7 separate regions of the Homo sapiens genome follow, and regions 1, 2, 3, 4, 5 and 7 are each linked to region 6. The links are contacts of gene promoters, found by promoter capture Hi-C in human tissues and cell types (Jung and others, 2019). All regions are on one chromosome and are shown on one strand. The core of a region is centred on a gene start or on the middle of the fragment in contact, and the rest is flanking DNA. Distances in the headings are between cores, read along the strand shown. Region 1 has its middle 70 kb from the start of PTER. Region 2 has its middle 48 kb from the start of LINC02654. Region 3 has its middle 23 kb from the start of LINC02654. Region 4 overlaps RSU1 (Ras suppressor protein 1). Region 5 overlaps RSU1 (Ras suppressor protein 1). Region 6 holds the start of C1QL3 (complement C1q like 3). Region 7 overlaps LINC02654 (long intergenic non-protein coding RNA 2654).

Evidence for each region. The method cuts DNA at HindIII sites, captures the fragments that hold promoters and counts their contacts. A contact is called where the count stands out against the background at its distance.
Region 1: a contact is called between a fragment that was not itself captured here and the fragment with the promoter of C1QL3 in region 6, in 4 of the 25 tissues and cell types used here (H1 embryonic stem cells, bladder, heart left ventricle and 1 more).
Region 2: a contact is called between a fragment that was not itself captured here and the fragment with the promoter of C1QL3 in region 6, in 1 of the 25 tissues and cell types used here (aorta).
Region 3: a contact is called between a fragment that was not itself captured here and the fragment with the promoter of C1QL3 in region 6, in 1 of the 25 tissues and cell types used here (dorsolateral prefrontal cortex).
Region 4: a contact is called between a fragment that was not itself captured here and the fragment with the promoter of C1QL3 in region 6, in 2 of the 25 tissues and cell types used here (heart right ventricle and thymus).
Region 5: a contact is called between a fragment that was not itself captured here and the fragment with the promoter of C1QL3 in region 6, in 1 of the 25 tissues and cell types used here (lymphoblastoid cells).
Region 7: a contact is called between a fragment that was not itself captured here and the fragment with the promoter of C1QL3 in region 6, in 5 of the 25 tissues and cell types used here (aorta, dorsolateral prefrontal cortex, mesendoderm cells and 2 more).

What each region holds. Positions count from the first base shown.
Region 1 is chr10:16,364,841-16,368,837 of GRCh38, reverse strand. No RefSeq gene overlaps it. Among named protein-coding and RNA genes, the nearest start is that of PTER, 70 kb to the left of the region's middle. The HindIII fragment of the contact is 5,747 bases long and covers 1-3,997 here.
Region 2 is chr10:16,323,821-16,327,442 of GRCh38, reverse strand. No RefSeq gene overlaps it. Among named protein-coding and RNA genes, the nearest start is that of LINC02654, 48 kb to the right of the region's middle. The HindIII fragment of the contact is 4,027 bases long and covers 1-3,439 here.
Region 3 is chr10:16,299,531-16,303,117 of GRCh38, reverse strand. No RefSeq gene overlaps it. Among named protein-coding and RNA genes, the nearest start is that of LINC02654, 23 kb to the right of the region's middle. The HindIII fragment of the contact is 4,128 bases long and covers 1-3,314 here.
Region 4 is chr10:16,677,701-16,681,321 of GRCh38, reverse strand. The region is part of intron 8 of RSU1 (Ras suppressor protein 1); the gene reads left to right. LOC124902385 (a long non-coding RNA gene) reads left to right here. Exons shown (of 2, transcript XR_007062073.1): 2 at 1-3,565. Among named protein-coding and RNA genes, the nearest start is that of RSU1, 140 kb to the left of the region's middle. The HindIII fragment of the contact is 9,054 bases long and covers 1-3,621 here.
Region 5 is chr10:16,762,791-16,766,529 of GRCh38, reverse strand. It overlaps RSU1 (Ras suppressor protein 1), which reads left to right. Exons shown (of 9, transcript NM_012425.4): 4 at 2,020-2,140. Among named protein-coding and RNA genes, the nearest start is that of RSU1, 53 kb to the left of the region's middle. The HindIII fragment of the contact is 4,126 bases long and covers 1-3,631 here.
Region 6 is chr10:16,519,722-16,523,577 of GRCh38, reverse strand. C1QL3 (complement C1q like 3) reads left to right here and starts at 1,699. Exons shown (of 2, transcript NM_001010908.2): 1 at 1,699-3,100. The coding sequence starts at 2,513. RefSeq lists silencers at 1,759-1,988, 2,259-2,478, 2,789-2,848 and enhancers at 3,148-3,648, 3,649-3,856. The HindIII fragment of the contact is 8,174 bases long and covers 1-3,856 here.
Region 7 is chr10:16,281,036-16,284,770 of GRCh38, reverse strand. It overlaps LINC02654 (long intergenic non-protein coding RNA 2654), which reads right to left. Exons shown (of 4, transcript NR_184075.1): 2 at 863-1,041. Among named protein-coding and RNA genes, the nearest start is that of LINC02654, 4.8 kb to the right of the region's middle. The HindIII fragment of the contact is 7,682 bases long and covers 1-3,735 here.

The sequences.
Region 1 (3,997 bases), core at 941-3,440, 160 kb after region 6:
TCTGTGGCATGATTATCAATTCATAAGCAGTGGCTGTTTGAGGCTGAATTTTAATTTCCCCTGGACTAAGCTGGATATTTTTCCTGTAGCTGATCCTTAAAGAACATAGCGAACCTGGAGGCTGCAACTAGGTTCAGAAGGTGAAGTGCAGTGGGGGAAATCCACCTGGAGTTAAAAAAAACAGCTAGTTGATTTGTCTTCCTCGCTTTGTTGTTCTATGTGACTGTGAGATGTGTTACATCTCCTAAAATGTCCACTACATATACTTTCTCTCCCCCTCCCTGCCCCTGAAATGACATTATGAGATTTCCTCTTGTATGCAAGTTAGTTAATAGCTAAATTTCATCAAAATCAATTTGTGAATAAGTAAACACCTCATAATAAATAACCCACTTTCGAAGTACATGTTTTCTGGGATTGATCTAACAGCATCCAATAAGTTCTGCCAATATCATTTCACATTAACTTCTGTCATGTTTAAATGCTTTTACAGGCTAATGGAGCAGTTTGTAATTTTGCCATACCTACGCTATTACTCAGACACATGGCATATGATGGATAAATAAGACGTCCTCAAATGTATTTGCATTAAATGTTCGCTAGGGGTTTCCTGTCTTACTGCCCCCACTCCCAGAAGCTACCCTGGGAGATGAATGTGCCAGGATAAGTTATCTGGGGCTCATAAAGTCTTTTCCAGAAGATTGAAATAAAGTCAGTGCTTGCAGAAGACAAATCAATTGTGACATTTCTGAATAGAGTGCGATGCATTTAATTAGCACAAGACATGCTAGCAAATGCTGAATTACCCAATAAATCACTGGATGCTGGAACCCATACAGAGCGGGGAATCAGCTGTCTTGTGAGATGTACAGCAAGTGATAATAGGGAATCTGGCCATTTGTATTGTCACTTTGCCTCATTTTCTGCTAATTTTTTCTGTGTTGACATTTGTGCATAGAGCCCCTGTAATTATTCTAAACTATCAGCAAACTCTGTCCCCACCCAGTCTGAGAACATTTTACAAATATTTGCATTTGCAAAGGACATTCACTACTGTTGATGTGATATGGCAGATGTGGCAGTAAGGTCCTCTGTAGAGGGAGAGAGCGTGCAGGTAAAAATCTTCAGCACGGACATACTGAAAAAGCAACTAACGGGGTCATTGTATTGCAGTTCATTGAAAATATTGAAGGTGTTGCTTCAGTCATTTTTAAGTCTCATAAAGATATCTATCAGTTTAGGCAGAAAAGTGGCTCACTTTAATGTTTGACACCTTTGGATTTTTTTTTTTTTTTAACCTGGAACTTAGATGCTACTTCAGTCTGTCTTTGAAATGCTGCAGCTTGGGAGCATTAAGTCTTAAATCCTATGTTTTGGAGATAGAGAATCTGGGAGAAAATTGAAAATGAATTCTAAATGAGTCTTGCTGGCTCTGGAAGGCAAGGTGAAAGGTTCCCTCCAGTGAGGGGCACTTTATGGATAAATTGGTGATTGTCCTAGTGAAGCTTTAATTGAGTAGGTTGCTATGATGGAAACATTAAGGTAGCTTACCTAATGAGCACCAGATCTCACAGAAGATGCCGCTACATACCCACTGCACTCTGCTTTGATACCAGGTTAATTGGTGACATTTCATAGGTAGGTAAAGGTAGATCCAATCAGGTTTTCATTTATAAAAAAATCTCAGGTCTGCAAAGCTGGAGTCTGATATTCTGGAGAAGTGAGACTCCAGAAATACCAGCATCATTTATCTGAAGGCATGGGAGTCTAGCTTGTGTTATTGGGGCTTATGATCACGATGCAGAGAGGAGAAAAAAAAATCTCAGAATAACCAAAGAAGGCTTTGCAAATTATGCAAGGGCCCTTTCCTCCCCGCCCGTCCCCCGCACCCATCCCAGGCATCCTAAAACATGAAAGGGAAAGAGTTCTCCTTACCCCAAGGAATCAACAGGGATGGAGAGGCAGACAAAACTAAAAAGATGGAATTCGTAGGCAACCAACAATAACTGCTGCATGGACACTGTCCAAATGCATCATCACCCACCAGTACCTTTCTTTGTTTTTCTTTACTTATGTCTTGCTCTGTTGCCCAGGCTGGAGTGTAGTGGCACCATCATAGCTCACTGCAGCCTCGAACTCCTGCACTCAAGCAATCCTTCTGCCTCAGCCCCCCAGTAGCTAAGACTATAGGCATGCACCACTATGGCTGGCTAATTTTTGTATTTTTTCTAGAGACAGAGGTCTTACTGTATTACCCAGGCTGATCTCGAACTCCTGGTCTCAAGCGATCCTCCTGCCTTGGCCTCTTTTTCTTGTTTTCCCCATCACTGCTTGGGGAAGATGACGTCCACATCCCCAGGCAGCTGAATCTTGATTAGGGTACACCTGTCCTGGCAATTCCCTTTCCTTAGCCAGGGTCTGGTTGAGGAAAGGGGACGTCAGATAGTTCCGACCAATGGGACGTCTGGGGAAATCTGTTGGACAGTTTCTAGGACAGTTTAATGCTTTAAAATAGAGGTACAGAAAGAGAAATAGTCTTTTCTGTCTCTGAATGAATTTGAATATAGAGAACTCAAGCTGATGTAGTCATTTTTAGCAATGAGAGCACAGGCCCCAGGACCAAAGCTAGCACCCTGAGGGTGAAAGGACTCATAGGGTGACCAACCATCCAGGTTTATCTCAGACTAAGGGGGTTCTCAGGACTTCTCATTTGAAGTGCTAAAACCAGGAAAGTCCCAGAAAACTGGGACAAGTTGGTCACTCCAGAAAAGAAAGCGTTGGATGTTTGATGATATCATCACTGCTAAGTTAAGCAGCTCTGTGGAAGGTCTACCTCTAGGCTTCAATCCTTGTGACCAGTGTCTATTGTTCATGCCGTTCTGAGCTGTGTTTTATTTTATGCAGCTGAAAGTGTCCTAATGGCCAATATAGAAGCAATTGTGTTTCAAATAGAAGCCTACACAAAGAGCTGGATGTGGTGGCTCATGCCTGTAATCCCAGGACTTTGGGGAGCTGAGGCTGTAGGATAGCTAGAGCTCGAAAATTCATGACCACCCTGGGCAACATAGTGAGACCTTGTCTGTACTAAAAAATAAAAATAATTAGCTGGGTGTGGTGGTGTGCCCCTGTAGTCCTAGCTACTGTGGAGGCTAAGGAGGGAGGATCGTTTGAGCCCAGGGGTTGGAGGCTGCAGTAAGCTATGATGGCACCACTGCACTCCAGCCTGGGCAACAGAGTGAGACCCTGTCTCAAACCCTACAAATATGAGTGGTGCTATAGTAATAGGAAGATAGGGTCTTTCACATATGCTCTTCTTAATCTTAAACACTTCCTTTATAGTTAACTAATACATGGATATTTATTAAAATGTGTTTAATAGAGAATAATAGTTCATCACCAGCCATATTATGTTGCCTTATTTTAAATTGCTACTCTCTGCTCTTAGAGTGTGATGAATTCTTAGACATACAAATGACCATAAAGCAGAGCAAGCCTGTATTATTGGTGAAATATCTTTTACATCAGCAGCAATAAATGTCAAATGAGCAGGTATGAATTCAAAATGTGAAATAAAGCTTTCATTAGCAGCTTCAGATGATCAAAGCAGCAAGCAGCTTAAGCACTAACAGAAAAGAGACCTCAATATTATCATGTTTGAAAACTTAGATTACTGTCGATTCACCATTAGCTTTCTTTCTTTTGAGACAGAGTCTTACTCTGTTGCCCAGGCTGGAGTGCAGTGGCAGGATGTCAGCTCACTGCAAACTCCGCCTCCCAGATTCAAGTGATTCTCCTGCCTCAGCCTCCAGAGGAGCTGGGGTAAAGTGCCTGCCATCATTCCTGGCTAATTTTTGTATTTTTTTTTTTTTGGTGGAGATGGGGTTTCACCATGTTGGTAAGGCTGGTCTTGAACTCCTGACCTCAAGTGATCCTCCTGCCTTGGCCTCCCAAAGTGCTGGGATTACAGGTGTAAACCACTGCACCCAGCCACTATTAG
Region 2 (3,622 bases), core at 177-2,676, 200 kb after region 6:
GTTCAGGACAAAGACGCTCTGAGTTGATTCATATGAGAAACTGAATTGTCCAGGTTATGAATGAATCTAGTCAAGGGGTCAGCAATTTTTTTTTTTCTGTGAAGGTTCAGAGAGTAAATATTTTAGGCTTTGTAGGCTATACAGTCTCTGTTGCATCTACTCTAATTCTGAATTTGTAGTGTACAAAATGTCATAGCCAATGTATAAATAAATGAGTATAGCTGCATTCTAATAAAACTTTATCTACAAAACCAGGTAGTGGGCCAGATTTGGCCTGTGTGCTATAGTTTGTCCATTCCTGATCTAGTCAGTTCTTCCAGTATTTCATTACCAGAAGGGGTCTGAGTGTGGGAGAAAAGGATAGACAGTAATGGTTACTACATACACTGAGCTTGATACTTAACATTATGTCATTGATTTTTTGCTGCACTCGGTAAGATGTATAGTATTATTCCATTTGATAGTTGGAGAAAGTAAAGTTCAAAATATCTATGTGGCTTGATAAGATCACATAAACAGTAAGTGATAAACTCCCTTTTTATTTTATTTTTCTTTTTTGAGACAGGATTTTGCTCTGTCATCCAGGCTGGTGTGCAGTGGAGTAATCACAGCTCACTGCAGCCTTACCTCCTTGGCTCAAGCAATCCTCCTGCTTCAGCCTCCTGAGTAACTGGGACCACAGGTGTATGCCACCACAATTGGCTAATTTATTTTTATGTTTTGTAGAGACAGAGTCTCCCTACATTGCTCAGGCTGATCTCAAACTCCTGGGCTCAACTAATCCTACCACCTCAGCCTCCTGTGCTGGGATTACAGGCATGAGCAACTGCTCCTGGCTGGTAAACTCTTTTGATTTCAACCAAATCAAGCTGATTACAAAACTCATGTTTTCTTCATTAAAATACACTGTCTCCATTTCATTGTCAATTGACTCATTGTGAGAGAAACTGTGGCAAGTTTAAAGTTGTCTTTTGTCAATCAGGAGAGGTGTGGCTGTAATATGGTAATGACTCCAGTAATCTCAAGCACCTTAAGCACCCACGTGGACTGTGAAATACACACTGTTATGAAAGGGGTTTGGACCTTAGGGCCACACAGGTATTTTGTGTGTGTGTGATTCTGATGAGTTTCGTCCATTTCCACAGAAAGTGTAGGCTGAGAACAGATCGGGTTCTTGGTGATACTAGTTGTTCATCTCAGAGCAGCAGGGTCTCTGCTTCCTGTTGTCCTCACTCTGAGACTCAGGCTTGGGGACCTTCACCCCAGCTACAGGGGTATCCCTGCTACCTATGCCAGGGGAAAAGAACAGGGCAGACCATGTATATATCTTATAGGTGTTTCCCAAGAATTGGTGTACATTAGAGCCACTCACCTTCACTGGCTACAGTAAGTCAGATTTTTTAAAAATTTAACTTTAAAGTGGGCAGGTAGCTGGCCATGTACCCAGGATAAACATAACTATAAATATAAGCGAATTGGCTGGAGGCAGTGGCTCAAGCCTATAATCTCAGCACTTTGAGAGGCCAAGCTGGGTGGATCACCTGAGGTCAGGAGTTTGAGACCAGCCTGGCCAACATGGTGAAACCCTGTCTCTACTGAAAACCCAAAAAATTAGCCGGGTGTGATGGGTGCCTGTAATCCCAGCTACTTGGGAGGCTAAGGCAGGAGAATCACTTGAACCTGGGAGGCAGAGGTTGTGGTGAACCGAGATCGGTGCCACTGCACTCCAGCCTGGAAGATTGAGTGAGACTCTATCTCAAAAATAAACAAATAAGTTAATAGCACTGATAACTACAAAGAACTTTTTTTTGCTAAGTAGATTAAATGTCAAAAGTTATTCTATCTGAAATTACGCCAATGTGTGTGGGAGAAAACGGAGGTCCAGACGCCTTCAGAACATATTAATGTTAATATCACCTTATGTGTTAATTACCAAAAACGTTCTTTCCTGACTCATTTACTCCATTATGTACTTGGACGGTGAGTACCTTCTCCAAATATTTTGACAATAGGGAATGGAGGCATTCCACAAAGTATTGGATGTTATTTAATACCTTGTGGAATTGCTGTCAAGTCAAGGTTTAAAGAAACTTTAGTAACGTTCAAAGAGGCATCTATATGACAGTGAAGTTCTTCTACATGGAAAGGGTATATGGAGATAATATAGCCAATGTGGAAACTAACGTTAATTAGGGAATTGGGTAAGGGTAAACTTGGCTCCTGGGATATGGAACAAACTTCTGTCTTCAGTTAACACCATACAATTTTACCAACAGAGCTGAGTTCTTTGTAACTATGTATAAATGCACCTCATGCTATATCCTCCTGATCCCCAGAGCATGAGTAACTGCTAGAGAACTGGAGGGTAATTTGCAAGGTCTCTAAGCCTGTTATTGATTTTCACTGGTTAAAACCCATAAGTGGGCTGTTCACACATCCTGAGAATATGGATTCTTTCATCCCTAGGGCCACCAGCTGGCTAGAATCTCCAAGAGACTTCAGGCCTCATGCTGATCATCATGCTGCTTCTCTCTGTTCTCTATTAATGCTTAGGAGGGATGGGTGGGGGCATTGAAGGCAGTTGAGCTTCCTGCCTCCATCCAAGTGCTGAAAAGAAAAGGACTACATATCAGGGTTCATGTTTCAGCATGAAGATGTTGTGTGAACTGATTCCACGTATACATCCCTTCAACTTCTCTTTGTCCAGGTCAGTGATGCTGAAGGAATTACCCATGTTCAGTTGAAGTGGAAGTCTGAGCTGATTCCAAGTTTGGTCTATCTGATTCTCTATACTGTGGTATAAAATATATTAGGGTGGACATGAGTGCAGAAATGGTGGCCATAGGTTATGGGGTCTCTTTAGAGCAATGAGACTTTTGACTGAAGAGTTCTTTAATTAAAGTTTTAGGAAGGACAACTGTTTCCTAGTCAGTTTGAGAATCCAAGTGATATGATTTGGCTGTGTCCCCACCCAAATCTCAGCTTGAATTGTAGCTCCTGCAATTCTCACATGTCATGGGAGGGACCAGGTGGGAGGTAACTGAATCACTGGGGCTGGTCTTTCTCACACTCTTCTCGTGATAGTGAATAGTCTTATGAGATCTGATGGTTTTATAAAGGGGAGTTTCCCTGCACAAGCTTTCTCTCTTCCCTGCCGCCATGTAAGATGTGCCTTTTGCCTTCTGCCATGATTGTGAGGCCTCTCTAGCCATATGGATGTAAGTCCATTGAACTTCTTTTCTTTTCTTTTTCTTTTCCTTTCCTTTCCTTTCCTTTCCTCTTTCTTTCTTTCTTTCTTTCTTTCTTTCTTTCTTTCTTTCTTTCTTTCTTTCTTTCTTTTACTTTCTTTCTTTCTTTCTTTTTTTTGACAGAGTCTCACGCTATGGCCTGGGCTGGAGTGCAGTGGCATGATCTCAGCTCACTGCAACCTCCGCCTCCCTGTTTCAAGCGATTCTCCTGCCTCAGCCTCCCGAGTAGCTGGGATTACAGGCACCCGCCACCATGCCCAGCCATTTTTTTTTTTGTATTTTTAGTAGAGACAGGGTTTCACCATGTTGGCCAGGCTGGTCTTGAACTTCTGACCTCATAATTCGCCCACCTCAGCCTCCCAAAGTGCTGGGAT
Region 3 (3,587 bases), core at 1-2,500, 220 kb after region 6:
TATCTGCCTACTACTGTCTAAACATGTTTTACTCATTTCCCAGACCTTTTTGCCCAGGCTCTGCTATGGCCCACTGGCCACTGATGCCTCCTGCTAGACTAGCCCACTGCTTGTTTTAAACACACTAGAAACATTGCTCTAATGTGGGCAGTTTCCAGGCTCGATGCTCTATTTTACTGATATGTCAGGTCACAGGTACAATTGGCAGGTCACAGGTGCAATTTCTTTTCTTTCTTTTTCTCTCCTTTTTTTTTTTTTTTTTTTTTTTTTTTTTTTTCTGAGACAGGGTCTCACTCTGTCACCTAGACTGGTATGCCATAGTGTGATCTTGGCTCACTGTACTCACCTCCTGGGTTTAAGCGATTCTCCTGCCACAGCCTATTGAGTAGCTGGGATTACAGGCAGCCACCACCATGCCTGGCTAATTTTTGTGTTTTTAGTAGAGATGGGGTTTTGCCATGTTGGCTAGGCTGGTCTCGAACTCGTGACCTCAGGTGATCCGCCCACCTCAGCCTCCCTAAGTGCTGGGATTACAGGCATGAGCCACTGCCTCTGGCCTAGATCACATGTGCAATTTTATTTTATTTTTTATTTTTTTTATTTTTATTTTTTTATTTTTTGAGACGGAGTCTTTCTCTGTTGCCTAGGCTGTAGTCCAGTGGTGCAATCTCGGCTCACTGCAAGCTCCGCCTCCTGGGTTCACGCCATTCTCCTGCCTCAGCCTCCTGAGTAGCTGGGACTACAGGCGCCCGCCACCATGCCTGGCTAATTTTTTGTATTTTTAGTAGAGACAGGGTTTCACCATGTTAGCCAGGATGGTCTCGATCTGACCTCATGATCTGCCTGCTTCAGCCTCCCAAAGTGCTGGGATTACAGGTGTGAGCCACTGCGCCCGGCCCACATGTGCAATTTTGCATTGATCAGTTCTAATCCTGAAATGCTATATAGTAAAACCCAAAGTTCTTATGGAAGGAACAGAGACAAACTTTCATTTTTGGCAAGGAGACAGGATTACAATCTGCTGTGTGTTAGCTGAGTGGAGTATGGGTTTACTTAAATTGCGTTGAGTTTAAATAAGTTTTGGATTTATTAGGCAACATTTGAATCAACTACTTACTGGGTTAGGACTTTCATCGTATATTTCTATATTCCTTCTACAGTATTCATGTTTTCTTCATGAAAATACTGATAGCAATGATATTCCCCCTTGATTGTTTTATAAGCTATATTCTCCTACTTCTTCCTATATTTTCTCTCCCTACACAATTGTTATGGTGATTCTAAGCTTTTATCTTCAGTTTTTATTGAGCTCATCAATGATCAAAGTACATCAACATGAGAAAAGATGATATGTTACTAAATATATATGGCTTTATATATATATATAGCAGTATTTAGTGTATATACATGTATACATTTATAGAACTAAGCATATAATATAGCATTTAGTAAGTTGTGATAAACTTAACAAGAAAATGTACGAATGTTGGTATTTTTCAGTTATTCTTGTCCAATTGAGTTATCCTAGACACCGGAAAATTTTCATCTCTGGCAGAAAAAAATCAGTTAATATAATTTTCTCTGTTGAAAAATTTTGTTTAGAGAATTCTATAGATTTTTAACTGCTGTCAAGAAAAAGGTTTGTCTTGCTTTTTGGAGTGATATGATCTTGAAAATTAGTGTGTAAAGTGATTTATTTAAAATACAGTCATGTGGCACTTAATGTTTTGATCAATGACAGACCACATATACAACATATACAACAGTGGTCCAACAAGATTATAATGGAGGCCGGGTGCAGTGGCTCAAGCCTCTAATCTCAGCACTTTGAGAGGCCGAGGCAGGTGGGTAACTGAGGTAAGGAGTTCGAGACCAGCCCGGCCAACATGGTGAAACCCTGTCTCTACTAAAAATACAAAAAATTAGCTGGATGTGGTGGTGTGCACCTGTAATCTCAGCTACTCAGGAGGCTGAGGCAGGAGAATCACTTGAACCCAGGAGGTGGAAGTTGCAGTGAGCCAAGATCATGCCATTGCACTCCAGCCTGGGCAAAAAGAGTGAAACTCTGTTAAAAAAAAAAAAAAAAAAAAGATTATAATTATAATGGAGCTGAAAAATTCCTGTCACCTAGTGACGTTGTAGCACAATGCATTACTCATGTGTTTGCAATGGCGCTGGTGTAAACAGACTTCTACTGCTAATAGTATAAAAATCTAGCACGTACAATTACGTACAGTACATAATGCTTGATGATAAATGACTATGTTACTGGTTTACTTATTTACCTTACTTTTTATTGTTATTTTAGAGTGTACTCCTTCTACTTATATGTATAAAAAAGCCAACTGTGAAATAGCCTCAGGCGGGTCCTCCAGGAGATATTCTAGAAGAAGGCATTGTTATCATAGGAGATGACAGCTCCATGTGTGTTACTGCCCCTGAAGACCTCCCAGTGAGATGAGATGCAGAGGTGGAAAACAGTGACATTGATGATCCCAACCCTGTGTAGGACTAGGCTAATAGGTGTGTTTGTGTCTTAGTTTTTAACAAAAAAGTTTAAAGGTAAAAGTAAAACAAACAAAAAGGTAAAATAGAAAAAAGCTTATAAAATAAGAATATAAAGACAAAGTATTTTTGTATAGCAGTACAGTGTTTGTGTTGTACGCTGTTATTGTGAGTCAAAAAGTTAAAAAAATTTAAAAGTTTATAAGGTAAAAAAGTTACAGTAAGCTGAGCCGAATTTATTATTGAGGAAAGAACTGTTTTTAAAATAGAGTGTAGCATAAGTGTACGGTGTCTATAAAGTCTACAGTAGTGTATAGTGACGTCCTAGGCCTTCCCTTTCACTCGTCACTCGCTCACTCACCCAGAGCAACTTCCAGTCCTGCAAGGTCTATTCATGCTAAGTGTCTTATATTTTTTTCTTGTATTCTATATTTTTACTGTACCTTGCACTGTACCTTAGATATGTTTAGATACACAAATACCACTGTGTTACAGTTGCCTACAGTGTTCATTACAGTCACATGGGTACAGGTTTGTAGCCTTAGGAGCCAAAGGAATAGATGATACCATATAGCCTAAGGTCTGCAGTAGGCCATACCATCTAGATTTGTTTAAATACACCCTATGATGTTTACACAATGACGAAATAATCAAACGACACATTTCTCAGAACATGTCCTCATTGTTAAGTGACACACGAGTGTGTATACACCGTAGTATTCATGGGGGTGTAAATTGGTGAGCCATTTGGCAGGATCTGGTGGAGTTGAAAATGTGCATGGCCCATGGCCCATCAGTTCCTCTTCCACATTTCCACATAGAAATGTTCTCCCAAATGTGCACCAGTATATGCTTGAATAGCTAAGGCCATAACACTAAAAACTAACAAACAGTGAAGCATTGCAATTTGGTCCAGGTACTTTACAGTCATAATTTTATTTAATCCTATTGTAACTTACCATCTTACAAAACTCTTACCTTAGTTATCATAAGTTGAGTTGATTTTCTTGAAGGTAGAATTCCAAGCATCTGCTCATCACTAAAAAGTCATTTCCTTACTTTAAATATTTGTACTTACATTG
Region 4 (3,621 bases), core at 1,025-3,524, 160 kb before region 6:
GTAGTCAGCACCAGAGCAATTTTATGAGACTTAACAGTCATCAAAAATTTATTATCAGATAAATCAGAGAAACAACGAGCATCTTAATAGGTTAGAGAAAGTGGCATGTAAAGGATCATTTAAGATGGTGCTTTTTGTCAGTTGTGCGTTATATTTACAACCAATATCTAAGAACTTACTCATAATTTCATGCAAATAGTCAGCAGGGTGATAGTTGCTGTCTTAGGTCAACCTTTTCTCTTTGTTTTTCTCCAGCAGAATGTTGTGTTTGGTGTAACTATAAGGCTAAGACTGCTAAATAGACACACAATAGGAAGCATCATTTCCCAATGTTAAGCCTATAGCATTTATTTTAATGCAGTATCTCCATTTTCTTCTGGATTTTATTAGAGTTGTCATCCAAAATTAAGAGTTACTGAGCTCAGCCCTTTCCCTTGGGAACAAGGTGCTAAACTTGAGCTCTTTGTTTTGTTTTGTTGTTTCATTTTTTCCTGACATAGTTTGGATATCTGTCCGCACCCAAATCTCATGTTGAAATGCAATCCCCAGCATTGGAGGTGAGGCCTGGTGGGAGGTGTTTGGATCAGAAGGGAGATCCCTCATGAATGGCTTTTGCCGTCCTCTTGGTGATGAGTGAGCTCTTGCTCTGAGTTCACACAAGATCTGGTTGTTTAAAAGTGTGTGCCACCTCCCTCCCTCCCCTTCCCTTTCCTCTTGCTCCTGCTTTTGCCACGTGACATGCCTGCACCCCCTTCATCTTCTGCCATGTTTGTAAACTTCCTGAGGCCTCCCTAGAAGCAAGCAGATGCCAGCACTATGCTTCTTGTACAGCCTGAAGAACCATGAGCAAATTAAACTTCTTTTCTGTATAAATTGCCTAGCCTCAGGTATTTATAGCAACGCAAGAATGAACTAACACAGTCCTTGTTTTTTATTTTTCTTCTTCTTACTATTTTTTTAAACTTGAGCTCTTTGGAATGTCATGGGAAAATGGTATTCAGATTGCCTTTCTTATGTCCAGGCTTCACGTGTACATTCTGTCCTGAGACACAGGCCTGTGTCTGCTGTATTCTCGGCACTGTTTTTGATACCCCGTTAAAGGTGTAATAAGAGACCAGATTTCTTAAAAATCCGGTTTTTGGCTTTGTGCGATGTCTCACACCTGTAATCCCAGCACTTTGGGAGGCGAGGGCAGGCAGATCACTTGAGGTTAGGAGTTTGAAACCAGACTGGCCAACATGGTGAAACCCCATCTCTACTGAAAATACAAAAATTAGCCAGGCATGGTGGTGCACGTCTGTAATCCCAGGTACTCCGGAGGCTGAGGCTGGAGAATCGCTTGAACCTGGGAGGGAGAGATTGCGGTGAGCCAAGATTGTGCCACTGCACTCCAGCCTGGGCAACAGAGTGAGACTCTGTCTCATAAAAAAAAAAAAAAAAAAAAAAAAAAAACTTGAGTCTTTATTGTGCCAGATGAGGGGAGTTTTTCCATCACCGTATCTTTGCCCTGAGTGTTCCTGCATCACAGTATCCTCTAGGGCAGAAGGATGGTGATGGTGGGCCACGTGGGAGCTGAGCTGGCAATAGAGAGCCTTCAGACAGAGCTGCTGGGAATGGACCCAGAAAGACAAGGCCGGGTTACATCCCAGCAGAGATACAACCTGCTTTCCACCTCACGTCCACGTGTGCTGCCTTGTCTGTCTGGAATGCTCTTTCTTCACATCTTTACCTATTAAATGCCCAGTTATTCTTCAAGTGTCAGGTTAAATATCGCTTCCTCAGAGATCTTTTCTTGGAAGGTTTCCCTACTGCCCATCAACTCTAAGCTCCTTTTATCATCTTTCTTTAGGGCCTCTACTTTCATTAGTAGTAATTTTAATAATAACAGTGGCTATCACTTCTTTCCCAGGTGTCAGACATTGTATGCCTTGTATGTACTGTATGTAAGTTTCTCACTCAATATTTATTGGTGTGAATACTACCTGTATTTTAGTAGTTAAGTATGTGTTTTTTTCTCCTGTAAGAGACTGAAGTCTTTTTGAAAGCAAGATTCCTTCTTGACTGGGCTTTGCACATGACATCCCCAGTGTCTTATATAACTTCTGACAGGTCACCCTAATTTCTGAAAAGTAAGACCATTCTGGGGTCTGGAGTGTTCCAAGTTATACAGTTCATTGTTTTTGGTGGTAGGTAATAAAAAGTACTGGAAACATTAAAATGTGTTCTCACTATCTAATACTCAGCTTAGATTATGACTTCCCTATGGTGCTTCGTTATTTTTATAGATCTTTTTACCACATTACTCTTATGGTGCAAATGAAACATTTCCTTAACCAATAAACTAATTATGTTTGAAAGCAAGACTTTTTTTTTTTTAATTCAAATCTGAGGGATCTGTGATTCACTTGTCTGCCTTCTCTTTTTCCATGATGGAGTAGTCCATGGGGCATGTGGAATGCGTGATTGTGCTTGTAAGTGGATGGAATATTCCTGAAGGATAGGCAATAAACTAGTAATGTAGTAATGGTGGTTATCTCTAGGGAAAGAAACTGGATGGCAAGAGACAGGGAGGAGTGGGCACATCCTCTTCACTCTTTATCCTGTGGTACCTATTGAATGTCCTATTTTCACATGTATTCACTATTGAAAAGATTATTTCTTAAAAAAAGAAAATACTCCCCAGTAGGAAGTTTTTACTTCCCCATGAATGTATAAAGGAAGAAACCACAAAGAATGTGGCTTTGTAACTGGTTTTGTCTACACTATCTCCTATTTTCATTCATTTGAAGATTGTGTGGAAGTCCTCCTTTTTAGTCTCCCTTTGATCAGGTACACTAAAAATTTTCAAGGTGATATCACCTCGTAAAATGAGTCCCGAATCTTGGAAAGAGACAATTTGAAAGACAGCTTGAGAGAAGGTTTCTCGCTTAATGCATGGACCATCCCAATTCTTGGCTGAAGCATTGTGAAATCTTCCACTGTTTATAACACCTGTCAGATAACATTAGGCTTTCCTATGTTCTTGGAAGAATCTGTGGCAGTCTGTTTTTCCTTGAGAATCAAATGAGAAAAGATGGTCATTCATGAAGACCAACAAAAGAGAAGAATAAAGAAAAAGCAAGAAAATGGATTTCTACGTTGGGTTTGTTTTGTTTTGTTAGGGGTATTTTCCCACCTAAGACTTTAAGTGAGAGAAAAGCTTTTCTATTTTTGAAAGGGCATGAGGGTTTGAAATAAGGAAGAATGGATCTTGAAAGAATTGATTGTGTCTTAAAGGATGGAAATGCGCTTCGGATTCCTACAGTGAGACAAGGATTTTTTTTTTGTTTCTTTTCTCCTTAATTTTTTTAAGCTGTCAACTAAGATGACGTGTGTGTTTCAGACTGTTTATGTGGGATTATGAGCATGTTTAATCTGTTCTTGTGCATTCCCAATAGAAACTGCGTGAGTGGTGTGATCTTTTAATAGAATGTGTCTTGCAACTAACAAATGTATTTTGGTGCTAAATTCTGGATAATTCCTAAGAAATGTAAATGTTGTCAATAAAAGTTTTTGTTTTGAAATACTTATAATCTTGGAGCTATATTATTTTAAGTTTTCTGAAGACAGTCTCTGCTTCAT
Region 5 (3,739 bases), core at 319-2,818, 240 kb before region 6:
TTGGTCAGGCTAGTCTTGAACTCCTGACCTCAGATAGTCCACCCACCTCGGCCTCCTAAAGTGCTGGGTTACAGGTGTGAGCCACCGCTCCCGGCCCTGGTGATTTTCTTGGTAATCCCTTACACACAGTGAATACCATTCATTTACACAGAAGTGTTCCATGGACTGTGCACCTAAGAAAGAATGTACATTTGCAGCCACACTGTACAGGTAGGGTTCATTTGCATTCCTGCAGGTATCCCAGAGGGAGGGTTCTGGAGGAACTTTGAGCTGTCTAGATTACCCGATGAAAACTTGTTCTTTTATCAACGGCCACTTCCGGAGCTCGCGCAGGGGCCGCTCACTAGACCACTGCTCCCTGCCCGTGTGCCCCAGTTCAGAGTAATCTGTATTCTTCACAGTCCCTTCTTCCAGTGAAAGCATCTCTTTTACCTTTCACCAAGCCTTACCTCTAAAAGGCCAGTGATACCTTAGACATTTCAGAAAGCTCAAAATGATGACTCAAAACTATAATAAGCAACGTGCCTGTCCCTTTACTTTTGTTCCCCTGGGAGTTATCAATTGGTCGTCTTGAAATGGCTAGCTGCTTAAATATTTTAGATGTATGTTTGGCATTTTACACACACCTTTGTGGTGGTTCTAATCACAGGTGCTCCCGGGTCTGAGTTTAGGTCTGACTGCAGGAAGCAGGTTGGTCTCCCAGCCTCCTGGGGCACCCCTGGAGGAAGCAGATGGGATGGGAAGTAAACCTGACTGATAAGAGACATCACACTTTCTCAGGCTGAGTTCCACGCCCCTGTTCATGTTCTTAGTTATCTGGATAGTCTTGGTATCAGAGTTTACGTGAACCATGGCCAAGCTTATCACCCACAGAAATGTTTGTAGAAAGACTGAATAGCAAGTGGGATAGATGAATTACAGTCTATGGAAACTCCTGCTGCTGCCAATTTACAGTTTGTGCTTTTAAGATAAAGATGCCTTTGGCTTTTACATTTGTATTTTCAAATGTATATATTCTAGGGAAGGAGGAACCTTTCAGGTCCCCAGTGGCTGATTTTCACCTTTGATCTGAATACTAGTATTCATAGCATGCTACTGAGTTGACTTTTTGTATTTCTATATAATAACAGTGTATCGATCTCTTGCTAATCTGATGTAACCTTTGTGTGTGTATATGTATGTATGTGTGTGTGTGTTACTGATCAAGTTAAATTACTCCAGAGGCCAAAATCAGAAACTAGGGAGGGTGAATATTTCATCATTTAAAATTGAGCTTATATTGTTATTAATGCAATGTTAAGAGGACAGCTTTTCAGATACTGGGTTATTTAAGCAGCTTCAATGTACATCATCCCGGAAGGGATTTGGAGATCTCCATCTTTCTTCTGGTGGCAATGCAAGAAAACCAAAAGAAAAAAAAAATTGCACCTATAAGATCATATATGACAACCATAAGTATATATGCTTCATAATACTCATTTTTATAGACTGTTTGTGGTACAGAAATTCTCTTTTGTGCATTTTTGCTCTGTTTCTCCCCCCCCATTAGCCATCTGAAACAAACTGTGCCAAGCACTTAGCTAATCATATACGAAGAAGCATTTCTTCTTCTGACGGCAATGCAAGAAAACCAAAAGGAAAAAAAAAGTTGCACTTAGAAGATCGTATATGACAACCATAAGTATATATGCTTCTTAATATTCATTTTTATAGGCTGTTTATGGTACAGAAATTCTCTGTTGTGCATTTTTGCTCTGTTTCCCCCCTCATTGTCCATCTGAAACAAACTATGCCAAGCACTTAGCTAACCATATATGAAGAAGCATTTAAGCAGCCACTCAGAAGTGAGTGACTGCTTATGAAAAACCTGTAAAAAATAAATAAGACCGGTAGGTGAATTCGATGGCCCTTTTGAAGTTATGTCTTTCTTTGCTTTGAAAGAAAAACAAAATGTGCCGCTGCCATCCCTTGCTAGGAGTTCCATTCCCAGATTCACACTCAGCATTTTTGTTTCCATAGTGGTGCCACCGAACATCGCAGAACTGAAGAATTTGGAGGTGCTCAACTTTTTTAATAACCAAATCGAGGAGCTGCCCACACAGATCAGTAGCCTTCAGAAACTCAAACACCTGAACCTTGGGTGAGTATCAGTGGAGCGGAAAGGATGGAGAGGAAGAGAGTGGAAGGGGCATGCCGGGTAAGGCCAGGGGAGGGATTCCTTTTATATTATTGCACAGAAATGGATTTCTAATTTCTTTTTATGTTTTGGGTCTTAAAAAAATTTTATTGTTTTAATATATTCTTTCAGTGGCCTACATTAGTGCATATTTGAGAGCTAATTGAGAGGCTAATTGTTGGCGCAATAAGGAAGTTAAATTTTTATTGTATTTTCTGTCCAGTAAAATTTTATCTCAGTTCTGCTGACCGAGAAGGGACTTATTTGCATAGCATGAACTGGCGGACAAGTGGTAATATGGCTGATTTCTTTTTCCTCTCTGTGTTAAATTGGAATAGTTTACAAAGCACCTTCGTGCCGTGGAGGGAAGAATATTTTCCCTAATGATGCTTCATTCATTTATGCAATTCTTCTCTTTAGCTGAGAGGTGACAGTCCTGTCTTTCTTTATGCAAAGGTGAAGAGAGGAGTTTTGATTCAGCTGAGGTTGCAGAACCAGGGAGCAGTAAATAATAATAATGATAATCTATTTTTGTGTATTGCTTTGCAGCACTTGACCCTCTCAACATTTGTGAGGTACGGAGGGCAGGTTTTAGTGCTTTCATTGTATACAGAGGAAGCCAAGCCTTTTCAAAGGGGCTAAGGGCCTGGCTCCTGGTCACCCCTGAGGTTAGCGGCCAAGCTGGGAAGATGGTTCTGGGTCTGAAGGCTCCTTCAGACCCCATTGTTATGGTCTGGGTCTGTGTCCCCAGCAAATCTCATGTGGAATTGTAATCCCCAGTGTTGGAGGTGGGGCCTGGTGGGAGGTGATTGGATCCTGGGGGCGGAGCTCTCCTGAATGGTTTAGCACTATCCCCTCTTGGTACTGTCCTTGTGATAGTGAGTGAGTTACTGTGAGACCTGGTTGTTTAAAAGTGCGTAGCACCTCCCCCCTTGTGCTGTCTTGCTCCTGCCATGTAATAAGCATACTCCTGCATTGCCTTCCACCATGAGTAAAAGCTCCCTGAGACTTCCCCACAAGCAGCTGCTGCCACGCTTCCTATACAGCCGGTAGAACCACGAGTCGGTTAAACCTCTTTTCTTGTAAGTTACCCAGCCTCAGGCATTCCTTTATAGCAATGGGAGAACAGACAAATAGATCCATAGACCCCAACCGGAACTGCGGCATCAGAATTTCATCTTCATTGGCGCAGCTATCAGATGAAACTGCCCACTCATGCTGCAGTCTCTGTGCAAAGTCATATGTTCATTAAATTTGTAGCCACTAAATGCTCTAGTTAAGTTAGTGATTGACGTGGAGTGGCAATAGATGCTGGCCAGGTATTTCCCAGGTTTTTTTGTTTTTGTTTTTTTTTTTTTGAGACAGAGTCTTGCTTTGTCACCAGGCGATCTGGGCTAGCTGCAGCCTCCGCCTCCTGGGTTCAAGCGATTCTCCTCCCTCAGCGTCCCGAGTAGCTGGGACTACAGGCGTGCGCCACCATGCCCAGCTAATATTTGTATTTTTAGTAGAGATGGGGTTTCACCATGTTGGCCAGGATGGTCTCAATCTCTTGACCTCATGTCC
Region 6 (3,856 bases), core at 450-2,949:
TATGTGTATAATTATGCCCAAGCAATAGGCGCGCATTTATAAAACCACTACCCTAAAATAAAAGTTAAGGGCTTGAGAAGTGGGAAGCCCTATTTTCCAATACCAGGAGCAGTGTGGCTCTCTCAGTAGCCAGGAGGTGGAGACCCCCACCCCGCTGAGCCACACAGCACAGCTTTTAGGGTTGATTCTCCCAGCCAAGGCCTGAAGGAGCTACTGACATTTCTCTTAAAAGAATCATTCAGTCTTTGTTTCCTTCTGTCTGCTCGTTTGACCTTATTTTGTTTTGAAACAGAGAAGAAAGAAAGAAAGAAAGAACTAAATTGGTGGGGTGGACTGGAGTAGGCTGGGGGGCGGGGAGATTGAGGCACAGGGAGGAAAGGAGAAGTCCATGCTGTGACACCCGCAGACAAGATCACAGGCTGCTGATCGTCACCCAGGATGTTACTGTTTGCTTGCTGTAGTCTTATTTGTTCCTGCTTTTCTCATTTCAGATTCTCACCCTGATGTAATAAGTCACCGTCTTCCCAGCCATCATCCTCGTATTGACAAGCAAATGTCACCCACGTTTGATTGACATCTGTTGCTCCTGAATGCAAAAGTATGATTTAGGATTCAATTCTACTTATTTATTTAAAGCCATTCTTGTGTGTCTTATGTATTTGTTGGTGGGGTAACTTGCCTGATATCTACCCTGGAGGCCTTCCAGTAATATGATAAACCATGCTGTTCCTTCTGCAGCTCACCCACTGAGAATGGGGGCTCTTCTTTCTTGTATTTCTCCTACTTCTCCCCTCCCTCAATGTATATTCGGGAAATCTGCTATGGAGCTTATAGAACTCTTTCCATATGCTAGGAAAAGACCTTGCCCAGCACTTGTGCAAAAGCTTCTTGCTTGATCTTTTGACGCCATTTTGACAAGTGGTTATTTCTTGTACATTTAGCGACTTTAAGTAAACGCAACTTCAGGGCCATTGGCGGTATCCCCCGAAAGACTGCTAGAACTGTAAGACTGTAAGCACAGTACGTATGTATGCACTCACCACGGTGCAGCATTTGTAAAAAGGACCAACCCCCTCCTCCCCCAGAGGCGGTGGACATGTTCATTTAAAATCATTCACAAATGTTCTTTGGCTTTTCAACATACCTCACTGTTCTTGGGGCAACATCTTATTCATTTACAAGGCAGAGGAGGAAAACCATCAGGTTAAAAGAAAATCACATCTACCATCTGGAAAATTCTAAAAGGCCCTCCTTCTGTTAACAGTGGCATTTTGAAAACACCTGAAGCACTGATTGTAGAGGAGCTAGCAAAGAAACTGTCAACTCAGCCACCCTCCTTTCAACCTTCACCTCCACCCTCCAACTGGGGCTGCTGGCAGTGGGGAAATCGGGGATTTAGGTGTGACCCTTGAGCTCTGAAAGCTGTCGCACAGCTGTCTCCCTTCCCCAGGTGGGTCCAGCAGGACCTGCCATCGCTTGGTTCAGCAAGGGAGTATTCAGAATCTCACTGTTCATCCATGTGCAGAGAGAGAAAAAAAGAGAGGCCGAAAAAAAAAAAAAAATCCCACATTGTCAGAGTAATGCCAAACTCTCTCTGAGTGGGATGAGCAGAGCAGATGCTGCAATGAGATGCCAAAGCGGCTCCCCTTCCTCTGTGCCTTGGGTGCCTATAAATTGCTCCGGCGCGCGTTTGTCAGCCTCCTCTTCTCCTGGCAGGTGGTACCCAGGCAGAATTCTGCCTTCAGTCTCTCTCTCGCTCCGCTCCCGGCCGTGAGGCGCTCGCCGCTGCTCGCTCGCTCCTCCGCCCCAGCTCTGAGCCTCGCCGTGCCGACCGTGCCCGCCGCCGCCGCCGCTGGGCGCACCCGGGGGACGCCCGGGCCCACGCGGGGCTTTGGGGTGCGCGTCTATTCGAGTTGTGGTGGTGGCAAAGGAGGAAGAGAGAAAGGAGGCAATAAAAAAAAAAGGCAGCGGACGGGCGAACTGAGCGAGCGAAAGAAGAGGAGGAGGAGGCAGAAAAAGGCAACTTCAGACGGAAAGTTGGTGCGAACAGGCGCAGTCTGCAAAAACGGAAAAGTCGATCGCAGGCGGCGGCGGCATAAAAGTGTGAGCTGCCCGGGCGAGCTCAGGAGGCGGCGGCTGGCTCTGCCCTCCCGGTGGCCGCGCCGGCGCCGGCTGCAGCCACAGGTGCGAAGGAGCTCGCGGGGGGCGAGGGCGCCCCGCGCACCCCTCCCCCGGCCCCCACCCCGGGCTCGGGACTTCGGCTCAAGTCACTGGGCGCCCGCGCTCCCTCCCCAGCCGCAGCCTCCGCGGGGGGAGCAGGAGTCGGCAGCAGCGGCCGGCGCACGCACGCCCAGGGGAGTTGGGGTTCGCAGGGGGTTGTTTTCGGCTCTGAAGAGGTCCCCGCCCAACCTTCAAAATTCTGTCCAAAAGCAGACAAGAGGATCGCCCCGCGCTGAGCCGGCTGGTGGGCAGCAGGAGGCGCCTGATCGCCGCCGGGGCGCTGGGGGTGGTGATGGTGCTGCTGCTGGTGATCCTCATCCCGGTGCTGGTGAGCTCGGCCGGCACGTCGGCGCACTACGAGATGCTGGGCACCTGCCGCATGGTCTGCGACCCCTACGGGGGCACCAAGGCGCCCAGCACCGCTGCCACGCCCGACCGCGGCCTCATGCAGTCCCTGCCCACCTTCATCCAGGGCCCCAAAGGCGAGGCCGGCAGGCCCGGGAAGGCGGGTCCGCGCGGGCCCCCCGGAGAGCCCGGGCCACCCGGCCCCATGGGGCCCCCGGGCGAGAAGGGCGAGCCGGGCCGCCAAGGCCTGCCGGGCCCGCCCGGGGCGCCCGGCCTGAACGCGGCCGGGGCCATCAGCGCCGCCACCTACAGCACGGTGCCCAAGATCGCCTTCTACGCCGGCCTCAAGCGGCAGCATGAAGGCTACGAGGTGCTCAAGTTCGACGACGTGGTCACCAACCTCGGAAACCACTACGACCCCACCACCGGCAAGTTCACCTGCTCCATCCCGGGCATCTACTTCTTCACCTACCACGTCCTGATGCGCGGAGGGGACGGCACCAGCATGTGGGCTGATCTCTGCAAAAACAACCAGGTGAGCGCGGGCGGGCGGCGGGGAGGGCGGGGAGGGAGCGCGGGAAGGTGCGGGCGAGAGGGAGGAGACCCCGGAAATGGGGGTGGGAGCCCGCGGAGGAAGGGCGCGGCGGCCGGGCTCCCTGGAGCGACGGCAAGGGGGGACGCCGTCCCACCCTGGAGAGGCGGGGGTCGTGCGCGCAGGAGGGCGCCCCGCGGCCTGGAGAGGGCAGTTCCGGAGTCTGGGACCCTCGATCGGTGCGCGCCCCTGCGAGCGCGACCCTCGAGGGGCGGGAAGCCGGGAGCTGGGTCCCGGGGACAGCTCGTGCGCTGGGGAGTCCCGGCGCGGGAAGCGACCCCTGGCCGTGGGATCCTCCGCAACAGAGGGTAGCTTACGGGCTTTCTGGGGAGTGGAGAGGCCTGGGGGAGTCCGGAATGGGCGTGGCAGGGTGACCGACTCGGGGGTGGTAGACAAAGGCCGGAGGGAGAAACAAGGGCCCCGAAGGAATGAGTCCAAGCAGGGCTCAGCCACAGCGGAGGAGCGACCGTGGGGCTCGCCGTCGCCGAGTCCTTGCGGTGTCCCAGGCCGTGAAACTCACATATAGTCAATTTCAAGGCGCAAACTCCAGTTTCGTCTTCAGCCAAAAAATAGCGGAGGGGAGAGGCAAGGAGTGCTGATAACAAAAAGAATAGTTGAGATTCGGGGGTTCATGCGGTGAAACACAGCGCGCAGCCAGACTCAGAACCCAAACTCTCTATGGAGTCGGAGGACGCTCAG
Region 7 (3,735 bases), core at 295-2,794, 240 kb after region 6:
AAATATTTCCAGATAATTCCAAGATGCTACAAGCGATCATACTGACACAGTTTACAAATAGAGCAAACACCAAAGGATACAGTCGCATGCACAAAAACAGCTTATTTGTGACCTCAGGATTACCACAAAATTGAGCTGCATTTCTGGACTGTCACCTTCAGGTGGGCCAAGGTGGTTACAGATCACTTTGCAAGTAGAATTTGTAGCTTCCAGGATAGATTAGAGGATCATTCTGTCATAGGGCACCTATTATCTAAGTCTGTGGAAATGCCACCTTCTCTCACCCTTATATTGTATAGACTTTATTTAAGTTTTTTTTAAGCATAAGAGAAATTCTGTTCTTGTCACTGTAATTTGCTGGCTTTAGGGTAAGCAGCAACTGCTAGAGTGGCACAAGATACGGAGGTGGAGATTTTGAACTTTGGGAATTAAAAAGGAGACCATGCAAATGGGTGCTTGAGGTATGCTTCTGATGGAGTGGAGTGAGAAGCCCCTGAGAGGGGCTGGCTGCTGGCTGGAGAGAAGGCAGAAACATCAGCAGGATCATGAGGCATCGCGGCCAGGGCCTAACAAGGCCGCAAACTCATGATCAGGGACTGGCTGGAGGGCCCAGGGCCTCATGGCCTTGCTGCATAGCAGGCAACAGCTTCCCAGTGCTGCTGTGTTTCCTATAACTCCCCCTCTGTGGTCTCCCTAAAGTCCTCCCACACTCTCCAGCTGCTACACTGACAACGCGGCACAGTTGCTCTTTCCGGAAGCCCAGAACCTTCCCCAACCACTGTCCCTTCCAACTCGCCAGCATCACACCCTCTCCACATTACTTCTCACCCAGCCCCTGTGACCCTCTTCCCTTATCTCTCACCTTTGTTCAACTCAAGGATCAACACTGCAAATGTTGCCTCTTCTTTTCCTTGAATTTGAGTCTCTGGACCAAGAGTCCATAGCATCTCTCTATGGAAGGCAGGAGAAGGCTGGAAGGGCGGCTGTCAGGAGCTCAGAGCTTCCTTGACCTTCACATCTCTCCCTTAGCGGCCCCTGCTTCTGAGAAAAAAGGTAGTTAACCAGGACTTAGGTGGTCCGCTTTCTTCTCTACATTGCCTGCTAACTGGCTTTGTGAGGGCAGAAAAGTCACTAAGCTTATCTCCTTACTATTTACCTAGAAAATGCCCTAATTTTCTCTCTTTTTAAAAATTAAAAAAAACAAAAAACAAGCATTTTTGAGACAGAGCCTCACCCCAGGCTTGAGGGCAGTGGCGTGACTCTAGTTCACTACGGCCTCAAACTCCTGGGCTTAAGGGGTCCTCCTGCCTCAGTCCCCTGAGTAGCTGTGACTACAGGTGCATGCCACCATGTCTGACTAATTTTTAAATTTTTTTGTAGAGTCGTGGGTCTCACTATATGTTGCCCAGGCTGGTCTCAAACTCCTGGCCTCAATCCATACTCCTGCCTCAGCCTCCCATAGTGCTGGGATTGCAGATGTGAGCCACTGTGCTCAGCCATCAATGGTTTCCCAGTCCCAAGTTCTCCTTCTTCCACCCTCCCAGCATTATCTTGCTACTCAAGTGGCCATGCTGCAGAATGGTTCCCGCATTTGTGCTCGCTAACCTCCTAGCTAGTTTACTCATCTCCCTCTTATTCCATGGGTGGATGTGTTAGTCTGTTCTCACGCTGCTAATAAAGACATATTGAGACTTGGTAATTTATGAAGGAAAGAGGTTTAATTGATGCACAGTTCAGCATAGCTTAGGAGGCCTCAGTAAACTTACAATCATAGCGGAAGGGGAAGCAAACATGCCCTTCTGGACCTGGTGGCAGCAGGAGAAGTGCTGAGCAAAAGGGGGGAAAAGCCCCTTATAAAACCATCAGATCCCGTGAGAACTCACTATCAGGAGAACACCATTAGGATAATCACCCCATGATTAAATTATCTCCTAGCAGGTCTCTCCCACAACATGTGGGGATTATGGGAACTACAATTCAACGTGAGATTTGGCTGGGGACACAGCCAAACTGTATCAGTGGACTAATTTTTCTTTCTATTCCCTTCTCCCCTAGACCAGTCAGTCATTTTAGTAAGATTGTCTGACTGCCCACTATGGGCTAGACCTAATTTCTGGGTACACATTAATGAGCAAAATAGTTATATTTTTTCTTTTTTTTTTTTTTTTTTTTTTTTAAATTGAGACAGAGTCTCACTTTGTCATGTAGGCTGGAGTGCAGTGGCATGATCTCAACTCACTGCAACCTCTGTCTCCTGGGTTCAAGCAATTCTCCTGCCTCAGCCCCTGAGTAGCTGGGATTACAGGTGTGTGCCATGATGCCCGGGTAATTTTTGTAGTTTTAATTGAGATGAGGTTTTGCCATGTTGGCCAGGCTGGTCTTGAACTCCTGACCTCAAGTGATCTGCCCGCCTTGGCCTCCCAAAGTGCTGGCATTACAGGTGTGATCTGCCACGCCTGCCCTAAGATAGTTATATTTTCTGTTCTCACACAGCTTATAGACCAAAGTGAGTAAGACAGATGAGAAACAAGAAAAAAAGGTGCAAAATGATAAAACACAATAGAATAACACATTAGAAATCTTTCCTTATTCTCATATCTTTCTCTGAAGATCAGGCTTTGAAGTAAATTAGCCATAGACTTGAGACTCATAACTTTTGCTTCTTTAGATGCTCTAGTTGACCTTCTCATGGCTGTGGTCTTTGAAAGACTGTTCAAGATCAGAAACTGAAGACAAGGCTGAGCAGGATTGTGGACTTCTAGGTTTCTGGAATGTTGAAACCACATCATGTACAGGATATGGCTTAGAAATAGGTACAGGCCTACAATTCTGTGTATATATGTACATATACTTCAACATGCGTTAGTGAATAAGGCATTATATTTTGTCTTCCTGGTGCATACTTTTTTTTTTTTTTTTTGGCTGAGTGTCAGTCACTCTGTCATCCTGGCTGGAGTGCAGTGGCACCATCATTTCTCACTGCAGCCTCGACCTCTCAGGCTCAAGTGATCCTCCCACCTTAGCCTCCTAAGTAGCTGGGCTACAGGAGCACACCATTAAGCCTGGTGAATTTTTTAAAATTTTTTTGTGCAGGCAGGGTCTCACTATATTGCCTAGGCTGGTCTTAAACTCCTGGCTTTAAACAATCCTCCTGCCTCAGCCTCCCAAAGTGCTGGGACTGCAGGCGGAGCCACCGCAACAAGGTATTGAAAAGTTGAGACATAGCTTATCCATTGAAAACTTAACAGCACTCAGTAAGTCTTAGTTAAGAAGAAGACAGAAAATCAGGAGCGGTTGGAATCAAAAAGTGAGAGACAACACCCAAAGTCAGTTTAGGTTTACAGGCTCTTTGAATAGCTGGTTCTCACTCTTAAGTTATTCTGAATATCATAAAGCCTTGGCAAAGCCTGAACTTGGTCTTGGTTCTGCTTTCGTGTTATCAATAGCATGCAGTTTTAGAGGAAGGTTCCTGGGAAATGCCCTAGAAACTGGGGGCCTCTTTGAGGCAGGCAAATTTCTGGAAATTAGCAAGTATAATCTTGTTTTGTTGTCCCAAGCTGTTGAGGCTGGAGATTTTTAGTACAGAAATTATTTCCTTCTCCTCCTCCAAATCCCTGTACAGTATGTGTGGGACAGGCATCATTATCAGCTTCCCCTTGCATTTCACTGAGCATGGTTTAATAATTTCCCCAAGGTTACCACGTAGATGTGGAAGCTAAGCTTTCTTGTTTGACG